Regions from separate parts of the Homo sapiens genome. Here all the other regions are linked to region 1. The links are contacts of gene promoters, found by promoter capture Hi-C in blood cells and fetal thymus (Javierre and others, 2016). All regions are on one chromosome and are shown on one strand. Each heading gives the region's core, a stretch centred on a gene start or on the middle of the fragment in contact. The rest is flanking DNA. Distances are from core to core; before and after follow the strand shown.

Region 1 (4,143 bases), core at 811-3,310:
CAGAAGACATTTGGGACACTATTTTGGCCTCCATTGGGTCAATGTTTTTTCTGTATCTATCCTTTCTTTCAAGGAATTTAAGTAGTCAGGGAGATGTGAGAGAGGAAATTATTGAAAAAGAATGGAGCATATATATTACCTATAGTGTCTATTTTAAAGTAACAGGACATTCTAGCACACCTTTCTATCCCTTGTCCAAGATTATTGTAATGACATCACAGATACCCGTGAGCACCAGTAACTACAAGACCATTTTGGAAACTGGGATTGTGGTGTTTATATGAACATTCTTCTTTCTAGGATGTGCTTTGATTTCTTAAGGACTCACACTGCTTTATATCAGTTAGAGACAGGGAGAGTTGGGTGGCAGTAAGGGATACAGAAAATTTTAAATGTGAAAAACACTGGGGAGTAAAACTTTCCATTAGATTCTTCTTTTTTCCTTTACAGAATTCATAGCAGGCTGAGTTTTTGTTCAGGCAATGTCGGGAAAGAAATAGCCTTTTAAAAATGGAAATAGTCCATTTTATTTATTTAACAACCATTAATAAGGCACTTAATCCATGTTGTCTCTTACAAATGTTAACTCATTTCTCATAACCACCTTGGGCTAGGCACAGAGAGGCTTAACAACTTGCAAGTGATACTCTGCAACTAAATACAGGCAGCACAGTTGCACGCTCTGTGTTTGGTTAGGGGCAAGGACTCTTATCCCTTGAGCTGGGTTGTGTAGAGCCCTGTGCTTCAGGCAGATGCCATTCCTTTCTCCTCTCCTCCATCCTACTCCACGTCTCAAAGAGGTCTGAGACCAACTTGTAGAATCACACTTAAACCCTCTAAAACCTAATGACAAATCAAAATACATTATCTAAAACTAGAAAAAGGGACAAAGGTGTCAGGTTAAAAGACTGAAAATCCAGACGAGAAAAAAAAGTGCCCTGTTAATGTTTCCAGAGAAAGATCCCCCAGTGCTGAATACCAGAAAATTCTATAGTAAATGAAATGTGATTTTATGTGTGATCTGGTGTTTAAATGTCATCAGCAGGCAGCTGTTTGCTCCTTCAGTGGGAATGGTGTTTGCACACCAGGTACCTACTCTCTAGTGTCATTCGCAAAGACAGAACCAGAAACATTGAGCCCATGATCCTGCTGGACCCAGCCCCTCCACAGCTTCAGAGTGACAGCCAGTGTCATATTTCTAGATCAAATCTGAATCCCTCCCACTGGGAGAAGGTCTCCAGGGGATTTAGGAAGTTCCAACATTTCAGAGGGAGGAAGGACGTTATGCAGGATACAAAAGAAGAGGTCATGTTATACAGCCCTGGCTTCCACGGACACTAACACTGAATTCAAATTTTGACACTGATAATCTGTTGCCACCAAATGGAAAACGTAAACAAGGTATTCTAAGTGTGATTAGAGAATATGCAAAACAAGGAACAAGTAGAACATTCTTCTCTGGAATCCGAGACGATGGCTGTACTTTCACAGAGAGCATGATGTTAGATGTACATGAAATAACGCTAAACCGAAAATGAGAGAGGCAGAGACCGGGAGGTTAACATAGAGGATAGACTATATAGAGAGAGGATAGCTGAGGGAAAACTCGCCTGTCTCCGGGTCCCCAGCAAATCTGATAACTAAGGAGACAAAGCTCTCTTCCTCTAAAGAAGTCGTGCCTTTCCTGTCCTGGTTCTCACGGGTCCCCCCAGCTCTTTCCTCCAACCCTACCCCGTACGCGGGGGGTCATCGGGGACCTAAGGTCCCCCCTCACAGGCTGTATCTTCAGCGAGGTGGACTCACTGCCTCTCCAGGAATTTGGGGCAGAAAATGAATATCCCAAAGTCCCAGAGTGCACGGGGGTTACTCTGGAGGGCGAGGCGTAGGCGTCACCAGTGGGCTCCCCCTACCCGTATCCGACTCCACCCCGGGGGCGGGGCCGTCGCCTTCCTTCGGGACTCCGGATCGATCTGGAGCTCCGGGAATTTCCCTGGCCCGGCCGCTCCGGGCTTTCCAGTCTCAACCATGCATAAAAAGGGTTCGCCGATCTTGGGGAGCCACACAGCCCGGGTCGCAGGCACCTCCCCGCCAGCTCTCCCGCTTCTCGCACAGCTTCCCGACGCGTCTGCTGAGCCCCATGGCCCACGCCACGCTCTCCGCCGCCCCCAGCAATCCCCGGCTCCTGCGGGTGGCGCTGCTGCTCCTGCTCCTGGTGGCCGCCAGCCGGCGCGCAGCAGGTGGGTCCCGGCGCCCTGGGGTCCCCGGGCCGGACGCGGCTGGGGTGGGCGCCCCGCGCCGACAGCCCCGCTCAATCAGCGAGTCTATTCTTCCCTAGGAGCGTCCGTGGTCACTGAACTGCGCTGCCAGTGCTTGCAGACACTGCAGGGAATTCACCTCAAGAACATCCAAAGTGTGAATGTAAGGTCCCCCGGACCCCACTGCGCCCAAACCGAAGTCATGTAAGTCCCGCCCCGCGCTTCCGCTGCCACCGCTGGGGTCCCCGACTCTCCCGCTGCCCCAACCCTGTCCCCAGCCCGACCTCCTGTCTCACGGAATTCCCTTCTCTCTGCAGAGCCACACTCAAGAATGGGAAGAAAGCTTGTCTCAACCCCGCATCCCCCATGGTTCAGAAAATCATCGAAAAGATACTGAACAAGTGAGTTGTAATTTCCATATACACAGGCGACTGGAGCCGTTGGTCAGAAATACTGGCATCTGCCCCCTAAAAATAAAATCAGGGAACCCCAAGAGTTAGCTGAAGGACTAGAAATTGTGATTATTATTTTCACAATTAAAGTTGCCATTAAGGTTATTAATCTGCTCTGGTGCCAGAGGATATTTCAGTATTTCAGTGTCTTCCATTTCCAGGCCTAACCCCTGGGAGGGTAAATGTGGGTTTCTAGAATACTAAGTAAATTTGACTAACAATGCCAAAATGCCCCCTGCCTGTTTTGGGACGTTTACCTCAGTCCCTAATGGGCTTCAGACCTGAAAAATGCAATGTCTGGTTTGGGCACTTTGGGCCTGTAAGCCTTCTTGGTGAAGAGCAGAAACTTTGCAGTAACACCTTCAGTGAGTTCAAGGCTAGGATCCCTGTCAACGTTATTTAATCTCTTTGAGCTTTAGCAAAATAGGGTAGATAATGGTAGTTATTTCATAGGGTTGTGTGCAGCTTAAGGGAGATCATGAATGGACATTTCTAACCCAATGTGACAATCAGTGACCAATATGTTTTGGCTTTTTCAAACCAAGAATCTAGTTGAGTCCACAGCCACTTCTTTCTTGAAAAAAAAAAAAAAAGCATTCAGGAGTGCAAGTTTTCTGCTATAGAAGGCAGTGGGTACAGACAGACCTTCCCTGAGTGGAGGGCTGGGAGAGAGTCTGCATGGGGACATCCCTCCAAGCAACTTCAGAGTGACAGAAGAGCAGCCTTCCTTAGCACCTGCAACAGTAACCCTTTTCTCATCACAGGGGGAGCACCAACTGACAGGAGAGAAGTAAGAAGCTTATCAGCGTATCATTGACACTTCCTGCAGGGTGGTCCCTGCCCTTACCAGAGCTGAAAATGAAAAAGAGAACAGCAGCTTTCTAGGGACAGCTGGAAAGGACTTAATGTGTTTGACTATTTCTTACGAGGGTTCTACTTATTTATGTATTTATTTTTGAAAGCTTGTATTTTAATATTTTACATGCTGTTATTTAAAGATGTGAGTGTGTTTCATCAAACATAGCTCAGTCCTGATTATTTAATTGGAATATGATGGGTTTTAAATGTGTCATTAAACTAATATTTAGTGGGAGACCATAATGTGTCAGCCACCTTGATAAATGACAGGGTGGGGAACTGGAGGGTGGGGGGATTGAAATGCAAGCAATTAGTGGATCACTGTTAGGGTAAGGGAATGTATGTACACATCTATTTTTTATACTTTTTTTTTAAAAAAAGAATGTCAGTTGTTATTTATTCAAATTATCTCACATTATGTGTTCAACATTTTTATGCTGAAGTTTCCCTTAGACATTTTATGTCTTGCTTGTAGGGCATAATGCCTTGTTTAATGTCCATTCTGCAGCGTTTCTCTTTCCCTTGGAAAAGAGAATTTATCATTACTGTTACATTTGTACAAATGACATGATAATAAA
Region 2 (4,494 bases), core at 622-3,121, 280 kb after region 1:
CAGTACTACTTAATAAACTTGCTTTCGTATACACAATGTATCATATTAGTCCTGTCTCTCAGAGAATCCTGACTAATACAGATGGAAATCACATTGTTCTGAATCGCATATCTGATGGCTGGGCCAAAAGCTCATTCTATCTAGTAAAATGTCTGCTGTTTGCAGTAAAACTCTTATTATTACGAAAAAAGATATAGGAGTCATGTCAAACTGTGAAAGAAGAAAGGGAAAGATACCATAGAAAAGTCTAGGGTCTTGGTTAATGTTCTAATGGGCAGTTGGGGACTGGAGCCCCTCTAAGGGCCTTCTGGCAACACTGAGTAGTGACCTTGGCCAGTAGCCTACAGTTGCCCCAGGACTTTATTCTGGTCTGACACGAAGTCCAGACCCCCATGAAGGTAAAAAGAGCCAACATTCCTTGCACCAGGAAGAGAGAGGTAACAGGGTTGCATCCTGTCCCCTGCAAATAGCATAGCTCAGAGGAAAGTCTGAGGACAAGAAATCTTGGAAAAGAAGTGAAGAGAAAGATCCAGCTGATCCGCATTTACTCACCCTTCTTACATATCCTGTATAGGCCCCCACATGAAGCAGGATATTTCCCTGACCCCTTCACAGGACTCGCAACAGGGGTGCCTCATTTACTCAGCCAGCAGCTCTTAACTCCTTGCAGAAGGGTGTGCGTGAGTGAATGAGGCGAGAACTGGATTGCAGGAGTGCTGGAAACAGCTGTCCACTTCAGTGCTGGCATGAGTGAACTCCACTTACTCAGACTTACTGCAGGAGGGAGCACACAGGTGAGCGGGCAGGATTTGGGGTGAGCGCTTTTGGGTACTGGCAGGGGCAAACTCTGTGCAGGCCCCACAGCAGCAGCATCTACAGGGGGATGCCTGTGACCCTTGAAGCTTCAGAAAGCATGTTACAGTGCTCTTTTAGCTCTGCTGTCCACAGACAGCTTAAGTTTTAACAGCTCAGTGGGTCCTCTGCCTTAGACAGCCTTTTGTATCCACACTTATGGCTCCCAAGCTCTTGTTCAGCATCCAGGAAAAATGAGGTTGCACAAACGAATTGAAGGATGTTAAATGTGTGTGATTTTACTGCTGATGAAAGTGGCCTTCAGTGGGAAGAGGAGCTGAAAAGGGAACAGGGAAGGAAGATAATCTTCCTCTGAAGTCCAGCTGTCTCCGGCAGGATTCTTCTCCAAAGTTATGCCATCAAGCTGTCCCTTTGAAGTCCAGCCACTTCTCTCTGACATTTAGCTATAGTCCTCAATATCCAGCTGCTTCTCTGCTTTGCTTGCTGAGTCCAGGGTCTTTATAGGTACATGATGGGGTGGGGCAGGGCCATGGGTGGCTTAGGAAAAGGCAACATTTGAATGGGAAAACAGGGTTATAAGTTCTCACTTTGGGCTGTGGTCTCAGGGTTTTAGGCTTGAGGTTGAAGCTTCACCAGGGATCCGCCGTTTTCTGCCCAGAATTTCTCTGCCTCCTGTCCCCATCAGTAGCTTTTAGACAATCATTTTACTTTAGGAAAAAGTAAAACATAAGACTTTCTATTGTGAACATTTTCTAAGGTTTTTGCTCTGATAAACATTGGCTTTTGTTTTGCCTGTAGAGTCAAACTTTACAAGGAATGGTATGCTGGAGCTGGCTGATACTATGTCATGAGAGCGGATTATCAGACATTCAGAAGTTTTACCAACCATTTGCAAAACCATTTTTAGCTTGAAAAACAGCGTAGTGAAAATATTTACACCAAGGAAATTGTCAAATACTAAAAGTCAAAGCTTTTATTTTAGAGACACTTTTGCCAGCAGGCCATTGTCACAGGTTTTGTCTTCTTCTTGTGGCAGTCATGAAAATGTACCTCTGGATCCCTGACTACAAGGAGCATAATTGACTGGTGGCTCTACACATTTTGCTTTAAAATTCATCATTACTTTTGTCCCAAGACTAAGCTTCCCAAGCATTGCTCCTAACTGATAAAGAAGCATGGCAGAATACTAACATAGACCGCTTCCGGGGAGACGCAGGTTTCCTCTAACAGGTGACTTGGACTCTATGATTCCCCAGTGACCTTACTGAACTTCCCCTTGAACTGCACTGCAGTCCAAGATGTTCCACCCAACCTACATTCACTTCCCCCTTCACTCAAGGTTAATCCCGCATCGTGGTCTGATGTCTTTGTCGGCCTCTCCCAGCTGCCTCCCCATTTCCTCTCACATACACTTACTTTAATAAACTTCTTGCATGCCTAATCCTATCTTGATGTCTGCTTCTCAGAGAATCTGGACCAACTCCCACACATACGTTTTCAGCTGCACCTTAGCTTAGTGTTTCTAAATTGTGACACTGCCCTGTATTTTATAATCCCAATGCTTTTCCACACACATTCACCCTCAATCCTATCCCCAGGTCCATGTTCCATGATGAACTGTCTTTCCTGTTTCTGCACATTCTATGCTATACCTCAGAGAATGTTTACTCATTATTTTTAAAAGATTTTTATTGAATGTAACACATAACTTAAAAGTGCACGTATTTCAATCTCAATAAGAGTTTTTACAAACTGAACTAGCTCCCATATCAAGAAACAGAACATTACCAGTACCCTTAAATCCTACTCCATGTTCCTTTCTAATCACATCCTGTGTCTCTAGGGTTACCATGGTTCTGACTTTCAAAGGCATACATTGTTTTTGCCTGCTTTTGTTTGTTAAGAAATTGAATCATGCAGCATGTGGGTTTTTGTGCCTGGCTCTTTAAACTCAACAATATGCTTGTAAGATTCATTAATATTTTTGTGTATAATTATACATAGCTATTCTCAATGTTTCTGCAATGCTATATAGTATTCCATTATATGATATATCATATTTGATTTATATTTTTTATTGTTGGCAGACTTTTGGGTAATTTTCTAATCTAGGACCACCACAGAGGGTACTGCTATTAACATTCTACTACGTGTCTTTTTAGGAATATATGTGCACATTTTCTGTCGAGTTTACATAAGGGACTTACTGGGTCAAAGGTAATGTGTATGTCTGCTTTGGTAGATGCAGCCGGTTTTCCAAACTGTATTATTTACACTCCTATCAGCAAAGTCTGAGAGTTCCAGTTGCTTCACATCTTCACCAATAGTTGGAACTGTCTGGTTTTTATTTCAGCTATTCCAATGAGTGTGCTAGTTGTTCATCTGCACACAGTTGAGTTGGTATTTAGATGGTGTCTTAATTTATTTTCTGTTGATTTATAAAAACTGGGTAATTTATAAAGAAAATAAATGAATACTTATCGTTATGAAGGCTGAGAAGTCCAAGGTTGAGGGGCTGCATCTGATAAGGGCTTTCTTGCTGGTGTGGACTCCCTGCAGAGTTCTGAAGCAGCACCGGACATTACGTGGCAAGAGGGCTGAGCGTGCTAGCTCTAGTCCCTCTTGCTGACCTTCTAAAGCCACCAGTCCTGGTCCTATAATAATCAATTAATCCATCAATACATTAGTCAGTCAATTAATTCATGAGTGGATTAATCCATTCATGAGGGCAGAACTCTCGTTACCCAATCACTTCTTTTATTTATTTTTATTTTTTTGAGACGGAGTCTCACTTTGTCGCCCAGGCTGGAGTGCAGTAGCTTGAGTTGAGCTCACTACAACCTCCGCCTCCCAGGTTCCAGCGATTCTCCTGCCTCAGATTCCCAAGTAGCTGGTACTACAGGCACATGCCACCATGCTCAGCTAATTTTTTATTATTAGTAGAGACAGAGTTTCACCATGTTGGCCAGGCTGGTCTTCAACTCCTGACCTCAGGTGATCCTCTTGCCTCGGCTGCCCAAAGGGCTGGGATTACAGATGTGAGCTACCGTGCCCAGCCATGTTACCCAATCACTTCTTAAAAGTCCCACTTCTCAATATTGCCACATTGGGGATTACATTTCGACATGTTTCTTCTTTTTTTTTTTTTTTCTTTTTTTTTTTAGAAGGAGTTTTGCTCTTTGTTGCTCAGGCTGGAGTGCAGTGGCATGATCTCAGCTCACTACATCGTCTGCCTCCTAGGTTCAAGCAATTCTCCTGTCTCAGCCTCCCAGGTAGTAGCTGGGATTACAGGCACCTGCCACCATGCCTGGCTAATTTTTGTATTTTTAGTAGAGGCGGGGTTTCACCATGTTGGCCAGGCTGGTCTCAAACTCCTGACCTCAGGTGTTTCTCCCTCCTCAGCCCCACAAAGTGCTGGGATTACAGGCATGAGCCACCATGCCTGGCCCAACATAAGTTTTAGAGGGGACAATTATTCAAACCATTGCAGATGGATTTCTAATGCCTGTGTTTCTGAACCATTATACCTTGGAAAGTGATTGTTATTGATTCTAATTTTTCTCTTTAATTAAGTTCTACCCTTTCTTTGAGTCACAAATATTATAATAGGATAAATAAATAAAGATAACAATAGTTTAGCTACCAAACATAGGGTAGCAGAAATGCTGTATTTATCCTACT
Region 3 (4,535 bases), core at 100-2,599, 320 kb after region 1:
ATTGAAAAAAAAGTTATTTTCAAAGTTCAGGATGAGCTGTCATTATTCACTGTAGAATACAGTGAGATTTATCATACAGATTTATATCTATGACAAACAAAGCTCTATTCTCTGGAATATAAAAAGTGATTTGCTACTGATGACTTTCACTTTTTCATCTTTTAAATGAGAATCCTGGCCAGGTATAGCAGAGAATATTTAACACTGTATTTTCTATGTGCCAGGAACTATCCTCAGCGCTTGCCATGTATTAAGTCATTTAATCCTCTCAATAACCCTATGAGATCAGTACTATTATTATCCCAATTAGCTAATGAGTACATTGAGGCAGAGAGGATATGCAGCTTGTTCAAGGTCCCATAGGAGTATATGACAGAGCAGGATTCAAACTTTAATATCAAATTCCAGAGCCTGCCTTCTTAACCACACTCCATGAGCTCCAAGGCTTTTCCAGAACTGAGAATCTACAAGCTTTTCTCATTTATCCATGATACACATCTGCTATTGCGTCATTAGCCCATGAAGCATTGTAATAAGGAAATTGCACAATACACAACACTAGCATAATGAAGAAATTATAAAGATACTGATTATCCAAGATTCAGCAATCTTCTTAATAATAATTATTTGAGAAAAAATTATCTAAATCTCTTTGTTTTCAGACTATTTTAAAGTTCTATGGTATTTGGATTCTGTAATACTAAGACCACTAATAAATAATTGTTAATATTGAAAGTTTTTTCTCCCTTTTGCTGATCCTTTCTCTTTTTTCCGAATGAGTAAATTTATCACACTAATCCCATTGTACATAAGATATAGCAATTACTCAATTATTGATATGTTTTGGCTGTGTCCCCACCCAAACCTCATCTTGAATTGTAACTCCCATAATTCCCACGTGTCATGGGGGGAACCTGGTGGGAGGTGATTGAATTATGGGAGCGGGTATTTCCTGTGCTGTTCTCGTGATAGTGAATGAATCTCACAAGATCTGATGGTTTTAAAAGATGGGAGTTTGCCTGCACAAGCTCTCTCTTTGCCTGCCACCCTGTAAGATATGACTTGCTCCTCCTTGCCTTCCACCCTGTTTGTGAGGCTTCCCTGGTCACATGGAACTGTAAGTCCAATTAAAACTCTTTCTTTTGTAAATTGCCCAGTCTTGAGTATGTCTTTATCAGCAGCATGAAAATGAACTAATACAATCACTTATTGTCATACCTAGGATTTGAGAACTATAGGTGTGTTTAGAAGTCATCTCGTCCAAATCCTACATTATAAGATTCTAATCTCCATTTTTAACTTGTACAAATGTTGTGTATTTCAAACCTAAAATAGAACTACAATTTGAAGAGTTGTAAATATTTGTTCATGTTTTTATGGGCAAGAGATTTCTACTTACAAAGTGAACAAAGATTCTAAATGTCAAAAAGGACAACATTTTTAGTGGCACAAGAGCTAACCTATGTGTTAAGACCCCTTTAGAGGGCTCTTATCAAGGAAACTCATATAAAATTTGGAATTTTATCTATGGACTAACCTAATCATTTGATCTTCTATTTCCCTTTGACTGAAAGATGTAGACTACAGTTTTCATGGTAAACCATTTATAAAACTTGATTATTAAAATCATCTTGTTGCGTGCTTAGCAGACCAGATAAATCTCAGTTAATAGACTCTGTCCTGCAATATTAAAGGCTGATAATTAAGCATATTAATTTATTTTACATAATTTATCCTTGCTTTAAAGCACTTCCCAAGTGGTCTAAACTGAGCAGGACTTCAGAAAATTGGGTTCTGAGCACTGGCTCCATTGCTTGCTTGCTCTGTGACCTTGAGAAAGCCGCTTAATCTCTTTGGACATCAGATTCTTCATCTACTAAACTAGTGGCTGGAGTTACACTCATCCTCTTTATCCCTTTCTGCAGCTGTCTTAGTGATAAATTTACAAATGGAACTTCAACAGTGTTGGTCTCATTTGAGGGATATGTCAGAAAAAGTAAATAGGTCCTTTAAAGTTCCTCAGTCAAACACCCACAAAAAGTTGAGATGTCTCAAAGTATAGCTATGATAAGGCCATGATATGCTTTGCCTTTGTGTCATCTCTCTCAAAAAACGTGAATTTTTTTACATTTCAGAATTTAAATTCAAATTTCTGATAGGAATATGTGCTTGTATTTAAAATCATAAAATCTTTGAGATATATGAGCTGTTACAAAACTAAGCTTCGATATGCAATTCTAAAGAATAACCATGTATTACCAAGAAAGTTTTCAATAATCTCTATGTTCAGTCCAAATATGATATTTATTTGAGCTACCCTATTAGGTCAGCTTAATGGTATGTCATTTTGACACTTCACTTTTTAACTCAGCATACCTTGACCAGCCTTACGAAAAAATAAACAAAAAAAAATGAATTTAAAAAAGAGAAAGATTACAATCTATCTAGTAGAGATTAGCTGAATGAATCCCCAGATTAGATATACTTTAACAAGCAAACAATTATTGCCAGCATCTTGAATTTTGAGCAACTGCTAAGAATATAACTAACGTGGCTCTAGGGAAAATTTTTATGAGCAATTCATTGTTGCTCTGAAAACATGTTTTCAGAATAGATTAACATAAGCAGGCACCATAATGTTTCAGCATCATCTTTAAAGGGGAAAATGATCAACACGCTCCAAATAATAACCAATTTTGAAGAACATTTTTTGAAAAGGGAGGTAATGCCAGAATATTTCATGGGAGACTTGAGGTACTTCTGTTTAGTAATAACATTCTTACTTAACTTCCTCAACTCAGGTTCACTTGATCCCACTATTGGTATCTTGTGATTATCTTTGGCAGAGTAGCCACAAGTTTGCCAGACATATCATTATCACATCTTCTTTCTACCTTTTACCTATGTACTCATAATAACATTGAAATATTGTGAAATCCTGCATCCAGGGTCAGGAAGATTTTCTTCCCCAATCTGTGAAAGATATGAGTATTAAGGATGATTTCTCACATTAGCCCATTCTCACATTATATAAAATAATTGCACCATTCAATTCCACAGTTCTGATTCACCAATAAATGAGAATCTTCCTTTTGTAATCCCTTTAGTAGTTCTTTGTAAATATCTGTGCTCAGAATAGTTCATACATATAATTTACTTCTCTTCCATCTTCTGGTGATTAGGCCAGGGTGTAATTCTAACCATTCTAGTCCTTCCACAGTGACTGTGTTAAAGGAGGAAATTGCCACAAACCACTGTCATTTTGCTAGAACACTAATACTCAAAACAATCTTTTAAATTTGAGTCAGCTTTTTTCATGGCTCAATGACTTCACATTTTTCTCTTTAGAAACCAAAATACTTACAAGGTAATCTACTCTTTAGACTTTCAACATCACATTTTCTCTGAGACAATAGTTTTCCTTCCTCCTTGGGTTACCACTAGATCATAACAAAATGACAGAACTGAAGTTATTATTCTTAAAAGAGACCAATAACTGGAAAAATGGAAACAATGCTTTCAGGTATTTAGGCAACATGCAGCAATGTGCAATAAAAATAACACAGAGTTTGGAGTTAAGTGCATTAGAAAAAAAATCCTAAACCTGCTGCCCACCATGTGACTTTGACCAAGTTATTTAATCTGTCTTCTCCCCAAGTTTCTCATATATAAATTGGGGCTAATAATTACTACTTCCCGGACTGTTTTGAGAACTGAACAAGACAGCATAGGCAAAAATATTTAGTTAAGTGTTTGGTCTACTATATGTGGTCAGAAATATCTCAGTTTCCTCAGTCAACATAGAAATATCAAACTCTATGGAAATTAAGAGAGTCATCTGAGCAGCCTAAGGAGAGGCCCATCGGTGACTGTTTCTCCCAGCTTTAGCAATCTCACTAAGAGTTTAAAAAACAAATGAAACAAACCACATAGTTGAAGAGAGAGAGAAAAACAGGTTCATTGTGCAAGTTGTGTGAGGGGAAAAAAGAGTGAAAGCATAAAATAAAAACATGGACATGTGCCTTTCCACACACAGCCCTAATTCGGCTCTAAAGAAAATGGTGGCAAGAGCGCAGACCGTATGGTCATACAAAGCCGGCTTCCAACCATGAATCTGACACACTTACCAGTGGGGTGACCTCAGCCAATTATTTAATGATGGAGTCCACGGTTCCTTGTGTACAAAGTTGGGATAATTGTAACTCCCTTGAAGGATTAACTGATATAATTACTGTATGTAGAGTAATCAGTATACAATATGCATTCAACAAAGAGTGCAACTATGGTCACTATCATTTACAAAGAGAATTACTCTTAGTTGCTTATTTGAAAGGCCTAAATCAAAACAAATCTCAAATCAGCTTCCAATGGGTAAAGAGCAGCAATGAGCCACGCCAAACATTCTACTTATTTGAAAGTATAAATGTTTGTAATTTTCCAGGAAGTTGCTAAGGAAGACAGCCTGACATCGAGGACAATATCCTCTTACCTCACACATTATTGGCATAACCATTTGACAGCATTTCTTCTGATGA

Evidence for each region. Contacts are between HindIII fragments. The CHiCAGO score rates a contact against its expected background, and 5 or more counts as called.
Region 2: a contact is called between a fragment that was not itself captured here and the fragment with the promoter of CXCL3 in region 1, in 1 of 17 cell types (M1 macrophages). The highest score is 5.9, in M1 macrophages.
Region 3: a fragment that was not itself captured here is called in contact with the fragment with the promoter of CXCL3 in region 1 in 7 of 17 cell types (M0 macrophages, monocytes, M2 macrophages and 4 more); the score reaches 11.8 in M0 macrophages.

Annotation. Positions count from the first base shown.
Region 1 is chr4:74,036,606-74,040,748 of GRCh38, reverse strand. It overlaps CXCL3 (C-X-C motif chemokine ligand 3), which reads left to right and starts at 2,060. Exons shown (of 4, transcript NM_002090.3): 1 at 2,060-2,237; 2 at 2,336-2,459; 3 at 2,573-2,656; 4 at 3,472-4,143. The coding sequence starts at 2,138. The coding sequence ends at 3,487. It overlaps LOC105377275 (a long non-coding RNA gene), which reads right to left and starts at 1,804. Exons shown (of 2, transcript XR_938875.3): 1 at 1-1,804. The HindIII fragment of the contact is 4,426 bases long and covers 1-2,600 here.
Region 2 is chr4:73,760,234-73,764,727 of GRCh38, reverse strand. No RefSeq gene overlaps it. Among named protein-coding and RNA genes, the nearest start is that of CXCL8, 22 kb to the right of the region's middle. The HindIII fragment of the contact is 171 bases long and covers 1,786-1,956 here.
Region 3 is chr4:73,717,566-73,722,100 of GRCh38, reverse strand. INKILN (inflammatory MKL1 (MRTFA) interacting lncRNA) reads left to right here and starts at 1,031. Exons shown (of 3, transcript NR_185098.1): 1 at 1,031-1,117. The HindIII fragment of the contact is 1,751 bases long and covers 474-2,224 here.